Linked DNA regions of Homo sapiens: region 1 is linked to region 2. Evidence: promoter capture Hi-C in 16 types of primary human blood cells and fetal thymus (Javierre and others, 2016). All regions are on one chromosome and are shown on one strand. The core of a region is centred on a gene start or on the middle of the fragment in contact, and the rest is flanking DNA. Distances in the headings are between cores, read along the strand shown.

The links. Contacts are between HindIII fragments. The CHiCAGO score rates a contact against its expected background, and 5 or more counts as called.
Region 1: a fragment that was not itself captured here is called in contact with the fragment with the promoter of NFYC in region 2 in 5 of 17 cell types (megakaryocytes, fetal thymus, naive CD4 T cells and 2 more); the score reaches 8.6 in megakaryocytes.

Annotation. Positions count from the first base shown.
Region 1 is chr1:40,843,186-40,847,626 of GRCh38, reverse strand. No RefSeq gene overlaps it. Among named protein-coding and RNA genes, the nearest start is that of CITED4, 17 kb to the left of the region's middle. The HindIII fragment of the contact is 9,100 bases long and covers 1-4,441 here.
Region 2 is chr1:40,688,576-40,693,410 of GRCh38, reverse strand. It overlaps NFYC (nuclear transcription factor Y subunit gamma), which reads right to left and starts at 1,707. Exons shown (of 10, transcript NM_014223.5): 1 at 1,544-1,707. It overlaps NFYC-AS1 (NFYC antisense RNA 1), which reads left to right and starts at 1,150. Exons shown (of 1, transcript NR_024567.1): 1 at 1,150-4,331. It also overlaps a transcript of RIMS3 not described here. RefSeq lists enhancers at 720-769, 790-959 and a silencer at 1,200-1,299. The HindIII fragment of the contact is 4,450 bases long and covers 1-3,785 here.

The DNA of each region.
Region 1 (4,441 bases), core at 833-3,332, 150 kb before region 2:
TATGGGGTTCCACCCAGATCCACCCTTCAGAGCCTGCTGGGAATCTTCTGCTGGCTCACAACTGTGTCACTCATTGGGAATTGCCCTTGGCCACAGGGAACTGCCTCACCCACAGTCATGGCCATGATTGGCTAATGATTGGCTGATGGTTTCCTTTGAAGGAAAACAAAGGCCTGCCTTCTTCCTTCAGTTTAGCACAACTCTTCGGGGATAGATGAGCTCTAGGGCTCCTGAGGATCAGCAGCTACCTCAGTTGCTATCGCATAGTAGATCAACCTCTCCTTCTGTCTAATCCTACCTCCTACCTTCCTTATAGATGAATCTCCTGAGCACACTCCCCTAAAAACCTTCTGCACACCACTCTCTGTCTCGGAATTGGTTTCCAGGAAACCTGCTGTAAGACAGATAGGCAAGTACACACCATGCAAGGGTAACCATGGCAATGGCAAGGAAGGAAGGAAGACTTTCAGACAAAGAATACAATCGACTACAATAGTTACATAAAGGATACATCACAGAGACAGATCTATTTTGCCTGCAGCAAAATGCTAGGCACATGCTCAATGTGTATGTAAGGGGAGAATTGAGGCCACCTCTGGGAGGTTCCCATTTTTTATTGCACTGATTATATTTTGTATATTAGGATTCCAAATAGGTTATGCTGTAGCAAAGGTTCCTGGGCCTTCAAAAAAGGGTTTTCAAATCACTTGGTTCCATGATGTCTATAGCTCTGTTCAGCTCTGCCAGTTGGGATGGGGCAAACCCGAGTGATTCTCAGATCCTGTGCATTTACAGCAGAAAATGCGTCAGGTTGGTGGGTGAAATCCCTGTTGCAGGTGTCATTGGCTGAATTGCATCCCTCCAAAATTCATATGCTGAAGTTCTAACCCTCAGTTCCTCAAAATGTGACTGCATTTGGAGATAGGGCCTTTAAAGAGGTAATCAAGTTAAAATGGGTTTTTTAGGGTGAGCTCTAATCCAATATTACTGGTATCCTTATAAGAAGAGGCGATAAATACATCAACAAGCAAAAACCAACCCCATTAAAAAGTGAGCAAAGGATAGGAACAGACAATTCTCAAAAGAAGATATACAAGTGGCCAAAAAACATGAAAAAATGTTCAGCATCAATCATCACTAATCATCAGAGAAATGCAAACGTAAACTACAATGAGATATCATCTCACACTAGTCAGAATGGCTATTATTAAAAAGTCAAAAAATAACAGATGTTGGCGGGGTTACAGAGGAAAGGGAATGATTATACATTCTTGGTGAGAATGTAAATTAGTTAAGCAATTTGGAGAGTTCTCAGAGAACTAAATATAAAACTACCATTCCACTCAGCAATCTCATGACTAGATATATACCCAAAGGAAAATAAATCATTCTACCAAAAAAACACATGCAACTGTATGTTCATTGTAGCACTCTTCACAATAGCAAAGACATGGAATCAACCTAGGTATCCATCAATGGTGGACTGGATAAAGAAAATGTGGTGCGTATATACCATGGAATACTATGCAGCCATAAAAAGAAGGAAATCATGTCCTTTGCAGCAACTTGAGCAGCTGGAGGTTATTATCCTAAGCAAACTAATGCAGAAACAGAAAGCCAAATACTGCATGTTCTCACTTATAAATGGGAACTAAACATTAGTTACACATGGACATAAAGATGGCAACAATTGACACTGCAGACCACAAGAAGGGAGAGGGAGGGAGGGGATCAAGGGTTGAAAAATGACCTGTTGGGTACTGTGCTCCCTACCTGGGTGATAGGTTCTGTCGTATCCCAAACCTCAGCATCATGCACATCATGCAATATACCTTAGTAACAAACCAGCACATGTGTCCCCAAACCTAAAATAAAACTTGAAAAAAGAAAAGAAAAAGAAAACTAGGAACACAAAGAAGAAGAGGAGGAGGAGGAGGAGGAAGAGGAAGAGGAGATTATTAGGACACAGAGAGAGACCTCAGACCTGTGTACATAGAGAACAAGAGATAATCATGCAAAGATACCAGAAGAAGGCAGCCTCTACAATCATAGGAGAGAGGCCTCAGAATGAAACCAACCCTGCTGATAACTTGGTCTTGAATTTCCAGCCTCCAGAACTTTGACTGTGTGATCATGCACTTCTGTTGTTTAGACCTTCCAGTCCATGATATTTGCTATGCCATCCCACACAGACCAACACACCGTGGTAGCAGCTATCACGGTCCTGCTATACACAGAGGTGGGTGGTAGGGGAAGATGTGCCTCTCAGCTTCTCAGAGGGAAAACGAAACTGTTTTAACAATTGGAGCTGTCAAAAGTACGTGAAATATGGCCCAGTGCAGTGGCCACTGCACTCTGCACTCTCAAAAAAACAAAAGTACATGAAATAAATTATCTAAATAGAGAAATAACTGCATGGGTTTTTTTAGATCTACAAGAGTGTAAACATCGCAACGTATTCAGAGCACCCATCAAAGTGAGCTGAGCCCCTTGGTACAGCTTCTGAGCCTGGGCCTCCAGAGGCCTGATGGCTTCTGCTTTTGCCCTCTTGCCATATGAAGAAGTACAGTCTAATCTACTGGAGGATGAGAAGCTCCATAGAACAGAGATGAGCCGTCTTGCCTGCAGACCAACTCACACCAGATTGCAGACACGTGGGGAAGGCCCTCTTGGGCCATCTAGACCCTGTTGATGCCAGATGATTGCAAGCACATTAGTGACCCCAGGTGAGACCAGCAGAGCTGTTCAGCTGAGTTCACCCCAAATTGCTGACCCACAGAATCAAGAGTAAATAAAATAAAATAGTTGTTATTTTAAGCCATTAAGGTTTTTTGTTGGTGGTTTTTTGTTTGTTTGTTTGTTTGTTTTGGAGACAGAATCTTGCTCTGTTGCCCAGGCTGGAGTGCAGTGGCATGATCTTGGCTCACTGCAACCTCCACCTCCCGGGTACAAGCAATTCTCTGCCTCAGCCTCCTGAGTGACTGGGACTACAGGCGCACGCCACCATACCAGGCTAATTTTTGTAATTTTTAGGAGATGGGGGTCTCATCATGTTGGCCAGGCTGGTCTTGAACTCCTGGCCTCAAGTGATCCACCCACCTCGGCCTCCCAAAGTGCTGGGATTACAGGCATGAGCCACCACATCTGTCCTAAACCATTAAGTTTTAAAATAAGTTGTTACAAAGCAATAGATAAATGACACACCAAGCTAAAATTGTATCTGCTGTCAAGGCCGTATTTGATGACAGTTTGGGGACTCCCAGAGCCACCTGCAAACTCTCCTTGCTGAGCCAGGCAAATTTAGAAGATAAACAGTAGCTGTGCATTGGTTAATTGTGCATCTGTCTCCCCCAGGGGCTGGATGACCTCAGGGCTGTAACTTGTTCTCCCGTGTCTGTTCATCCTGTATATTGTGCTGAGGCAGGGTCTGGCATATAGCGGGTGCTCAATAGACATTTAACTCAATTAGTGAAATGTCATGGGACTTGTTCGGGTTACCAGCACCTCCTGCTCGGGTGACTGCAGCAGTCTCCTACCTGCTCTCCCCACACCCACACTTACTCCCTCAAATACATCTTCCATCCCAGGAAAAAAAAAAAATTCTAAAATGCAAATCTACCCCAGTGTGCTGCCTGAGAAAAATCTTTTATTGTCTCCCCACTGCTATCATGGCTAAGTCCTATCTCTTTGGAATGATTAATGAAATCCTGTAAACTTTGACCCCTAATTCTAAAGTCCCATCTTGCACCCCTCTCTCCGTTGCTGTCTGGGACCAGCCACGGGATTTCTTTCTGTTCCTTTCATCTACCACACTCACTGGTGCCTCTGGACCCTATCACATACTGTGCCTTTTCCTGGAACATCACCACCACTGCCACCACCCCAGTTCCCAGGCCTGGCTCCATCCTACCTGTCCTTCAGTACATTTGGTTGTCCATTTTGTCTGATTGAGAGATGACAAGAAGTATGGATCTACACTGATTTATGGGCAGTGGCTAATGGTTTGGCTGGATGGTCAGGGGTTCAGAAAGCACAGAACTGGAGGACTGGCCATAAGAAAAACTGGGAGAGACTAGTAGATGGACTTTCAGAAATGACACAGAATATGAAGATATTTGTATTCCAAGTAAAATCTCACCCAAAGTCATCCATGGCAGAGGCAGCTCTTGATAATTCGATGGACAAGATGGCACATTGGATGGATGTCAGCCAGCCTCTCTCCCTAGTCTCTCCAGCGCATTCTCCATATGTTTATGTACAATGTGGTCATGGTGGCCAGAATGGAGACTATTTACAGGTTCAACAACATGAACGTAACTCGTCAAGGCTGATCTGACTAATGCCACACTGTATGTCCAACCTGCCTCCAGCCAAGACAAATGCTAAGTACTTAGTATATCATCCCTCTGCAAGGGTCCACCTAGCCACTTGGTGCCAGGTC
Region 2 (4,835 bases), core at 458-2,957:
AAAACAAATTAGGAAAACACAGATGTTTAACATAAATGTGTTTCCATGGCCCTCACACACTGGGACGAGCAAATGTAAAGCAATACAAGTAACTACGATTCAGATTCAGTGGAAAAGAACATATTCCCAACAAGTTGACTGGAACGACTCTGGATTGGAATAAAAACTTTTTGAATATGAACCAGAAAGTGTTGACAAGTCCTGTTCCTTAAGAAGCTATGCATGGGCTTTTTTTTGGTTTGGAGCTGCTTATTTGAAAAAACAAACAAAAAATTCAAAGTACACATGGGAATGGGTATACTTTTTAGGCACATATACAAGGAAATAAACCAAGACCGAAAATTTCTGGCTAGCTCCCTTTCCCTTAAAGGGGAACCTAACAATATTTACTCAACAAATAACTACCAACTACCTAATATTTGCTAATGTGGCTTTGGAAACTCAGCCATGACCTGTATCCTTCCTAGAGCAGCAAATTTCATATACAACATCTCAAAACTACTTGTATGGTCCTGAGACTCAATAATGTATAACTGTTCTATTAATACACTTCCCAAGTCCGAAAATGTCCCCTAAAATGCTTCCTATATCAGATTTTGTCACTTTAAATCTGATACTACTTAATGCTGTGCTTCCTAGGCTCGGACAGAGCACACTTCTCAATAGCATTCCTCTCTCGGTTTACTTGCTCCTCACATCACATCCCAGGTCCGTTGACTCTGGACTCCAGGGCTCCACCAAAACCTCAGTGTTTGAATGCTTGCACTCTCCAGCAAAATCCCTGATCCGATTCTACCGTTCAGCTATGCCCCTAGCCCTGATGCCTTTCTTCCTACACCATACACTCACACCGTGGACTTCAGGGCCACTTCCAAACTGGGTCACATTAGCAACCCTGGATCTCGAAGACTCTCAGCCTGTCACTTGGGTTTCGGTGTTTCCAAGCCTGGAACCCTGAGGGCCTGCACACCCCAATCTTGGGCCATGCATGTACCAGGAAAAGCACCTCTGAAAGTGAGTGTCCCCCATTCCCAGGCCATGGCCTAAGCTACCCCCAAAGTACCTGCCAGGCCATCACCCTCTCTTCCCCCTTAAAGCCTCTAGGCTCGCCCTCTCGCCGCAACCCCACGCCTGCGCCGCAGGGGGTCATTGCCCCAGCCGCCCTAGCCCAAGACGCGCGCATCCCCGCAGCCTCAGATTCCTTCATCACCCCCTAGACCGGAGCTGGCGCGTCCAATAAGGTGCCAGGTCCGCGGCCTCCCCGCCACCGACCAATCACGAGCGAGCCCCCCCGCCGTCGCCTTCCGCCAATGGGAGAAAGCCCGCGGGCCGGGCCGACGAGGCACACGGACCCCACGAGCGCGGCGGCGGCGACAGCAGCGGGCCAGGCAAGAGCACAACATGGCGGCGGGCAGGACGGACCGAGCTACAGCAGCGGCCGCGCGAGGAAGTGAGGTCTCTGGCGAAGGCGGGAAGCGCTGCCCCTCCCCCCGCCGCCGCTTCCCTATCACCCTCGCACAGAAACTCCCGCACACTCACACACCTCTGCTCAGGAGTCCAGGAAGAGCAGGAGCCGCCCCCGCGCTCCTACGGAGTCGGGCAATGCAGAGGCCCAGGCGCGGCGGAGGGGAGGGGGAAGTGTGCGTCACGGAGAACGGAGCGCGCGCGAAGCGGGGGCACAAGCAAGATGGCGGCCACGCCGTTTGCACCGTTTCCCCTTTTCCCTTCCCCCTCCCTTGGCGCCTGGACTCCCAGTATCGTGCGGTGCGCAGAAGCTGTGCTCCTTGAGGTCTCGCGAGAATTGGGAAGGGGCGACGACAGAGGGAGGCGGAATGAGATCTGAGAGTTTTAACCCCGCCCCCTTTCGGGAGCTCGAGATCTGAGTTTTGACCCCGCCCCCTTTCGGGGGATCCGGAGGCGCTGCCCAGTGACCTCCACCACCCTGCCTATCCTTGTGGATCTCCTTGGTGCGAGCTTGAATTTTAGGAAATAAGTAGGTGTGTGCGCGTGCCCTTGAGTTTTAGGAACTAAGTAGGGGCGTGTGTGTGTATTTGTGTTTTTAATTTGGGGAGAAAGAACTGGGGGATGAAGGTCGACATGGCGTTCCAGATTAAGCATGCCGTTCAAGTAGACAGCTACTGGCACCTTAAATTCATAAAAGAGCATTTAGCACCAAACTGTAAAGTGATGTCCTCTAGAATAAAGAACAGTACTTACCAAGAATAGTTAGCTTGTAACCTTACGTCGACATAGTTGTTCTTATTTGAATGCAGATTTTAAAGTTTTATCACGCAGTTGGAAACCACAGCTACTATGAGCATGGATTTTTTCATACTTATCTCTTTCATTTCCGTGACCACTTGGTCCAAAGGCATCAGGATTGTATCCATTTTACAAATGATAAAACTGAAGCTCAAAAAGGTTAAGTAACTTGATCTAAGTCCCCACAGCTAGTAAGTGTCAAAACCCCATCCGAATAACTTCAAAACCTGTAGGTATAGTCATCAAATGTGTCTTGAATGGAATTACCTACAGTGAGAGTTAGTGCATTAGGTAACAAGCGCAGAGAGGAATGACTGCCTCTGCTGATGGTAACCTTGAATTTTACAAATGACACTGGAGCCTTTCTGAGACTAGTGTTGCATGGGTCCTCAATAAAATCACACTGTTGTTACTCACTTCCTTTGGGTTTATAACCCTGGTGATAAAGTAATTGAGAATAGTGGAGTAAACCCTCGACTTGAATTCAGGAAAATTGTTTTCAAATCCAGTTTCAATAAATCTCACATCAGGCACTCTATTTGATGAATGAATGAACAAAACCTAACTATAAGACACTTGACTTCAGGGAGTCTCAATTCCTTCATCTGTAAAAAGATCTAATTCCTAACTTTTGGTAATGTTGGGGAGAGTGAATGAAATAATGTGAGAGTGCTTCGTAAATTGCAAAAGTGTTATAAAGAAGTTACTGGTAAGAGCTACGAGTGTCTCGCTGCACTCTAGCATGGGCGACAGTGCGAGGCCCTGTCTCAGAAAAAAAAAAAGTTACTTATAATGACATTTTCAGACATGAGAAATGGCATAAAATTAAAAACAGATTCAAGAGAATAGTATGTTGAGATTGTAGAGACAGATGTAGCTAATGGAAAAAAGCTAAATAAGTCTCTCTACAGATGTTTATTGAGTACTTATTGCATATACTATGCTTGCCAAAAAATGTAAAAGTGTACATTTAGTTACAATGAAGCAGCACAAGTTATTATTAGTGATTATTGTTATAATTAAGTATTGATCACACTTAGGGGCTGCAGTCTATTTCCTTCCAAGAGCCTGGAAGTTGGGTTGCCCTCAGAAATAAATAAAAATCTACATAGAGGAAATTAGCTAAGAGTGATATTAAGTATATTTAACAACAAGTAGTGCTCAAGCATAGATGAAGCAGAATTAGAAATGCAGCTAGGATCCTGGAGGTATACGTCTGTGCTAGGTGTTAACCCTTCAGTTGCTGGTTTGTGAATAGGAGGTCCCAAGGGATCCCAGGGGAAGGGAGTGGTCAGGAGGTTTGGGACAGCAGCTATTTACCAGGTAGTACTAGAGTATTTCAGTATTTTAATAGTCAATGTTATAACTGATAACAGTCAATTGATACATATAAGCCTAATATTAGTCCTTGCTATAGTCTTTATTATCAATAGCCTCCGCCCTTCCCTTTCTAAAGCCGTTGCTATCTGGCCTGTCCCTAGGAGATTAGGGTGAAAGACTTCTCACCCTAATGTCGTCAAGCTTGGCCTTGTTTTGACCAATGAAATATGAGTAGAAATGGCATGAACCGGCCGGGCACGGTGGCTCACACCTGTAATCCCAGCACTTTGGGAGGCCGAGGTGGGTGGATGACGAGGTCAGGAGTTCAAGACCAGCCTGGCCAAGATGGTGAAGCCCTGTCTCTACTAAAAATAAAAAAATTAGCCAGGTGTGGTGGCAGGCACCTGCAATCCCAGCTACTCGGGAGGCTGAGGCAGGAGAATTGCTTTAACCAGGGAGTTGGAGGTTGCAGTGAGCAAATATCACGCCACTGCACTCCAGCCTGGGCGACAGAGTGAGACTCTGTCTCAAAAAAAGAAAGAAAGAAATGGCATGAACCACTTCTGAGCAGAAATTTATGAGCTATCTTACAATTTTGCCATATTATCTTTCCTCTGACACAAGAGCAGCATGTCCTAAATAGAGCTCCCTCTTCAGCTTTGGTCCCAGAATGAAGATGTGCAGAGCGACAGCTGACACACATAACCTGTAATGTTGTGTGAACAATAAATAAACCTTTGTTGTAAGCCACTGAGATTGTTTTCGTTGTTACTGCAGCATAACATGCTAGCTAAGCAGACTAATACAACCATGAAATTAGCTATCCATGGGGGTAAGCCAAGACCTTTTTTACAAACATGACCAAACAAAACAAAACAAACTCTGATAAAGGGCATATGGGAGGAACCTGAAGAAGGTAGATATTGTAATTTAATAAATGGAACCTAATCAATCTCGTCAGCCATTCTGTACCCTGTTTGGAGAGAGATTCTGTGAACAAAAGGGCTTGCTCAGCCATGGCAGCCCAAAACAAGGCAGTCACAAAGGCTAGCACTACCATTGCCCCTCTAAGCCTCATCTCAATTAAGCCACACTGAGCATTAGGATTTCCTTGCCCGTGTCATCTCTGTAGTGGATGGGAATATCTCAGACTGCCTCAGCTAAGAAATACTTCTTAAGATCAACATGCTTTCCTCTATGTTCACCCAGCAAGTGTCTTGGCGATAGGGACAGAATTAAGTGATCTGCCACCT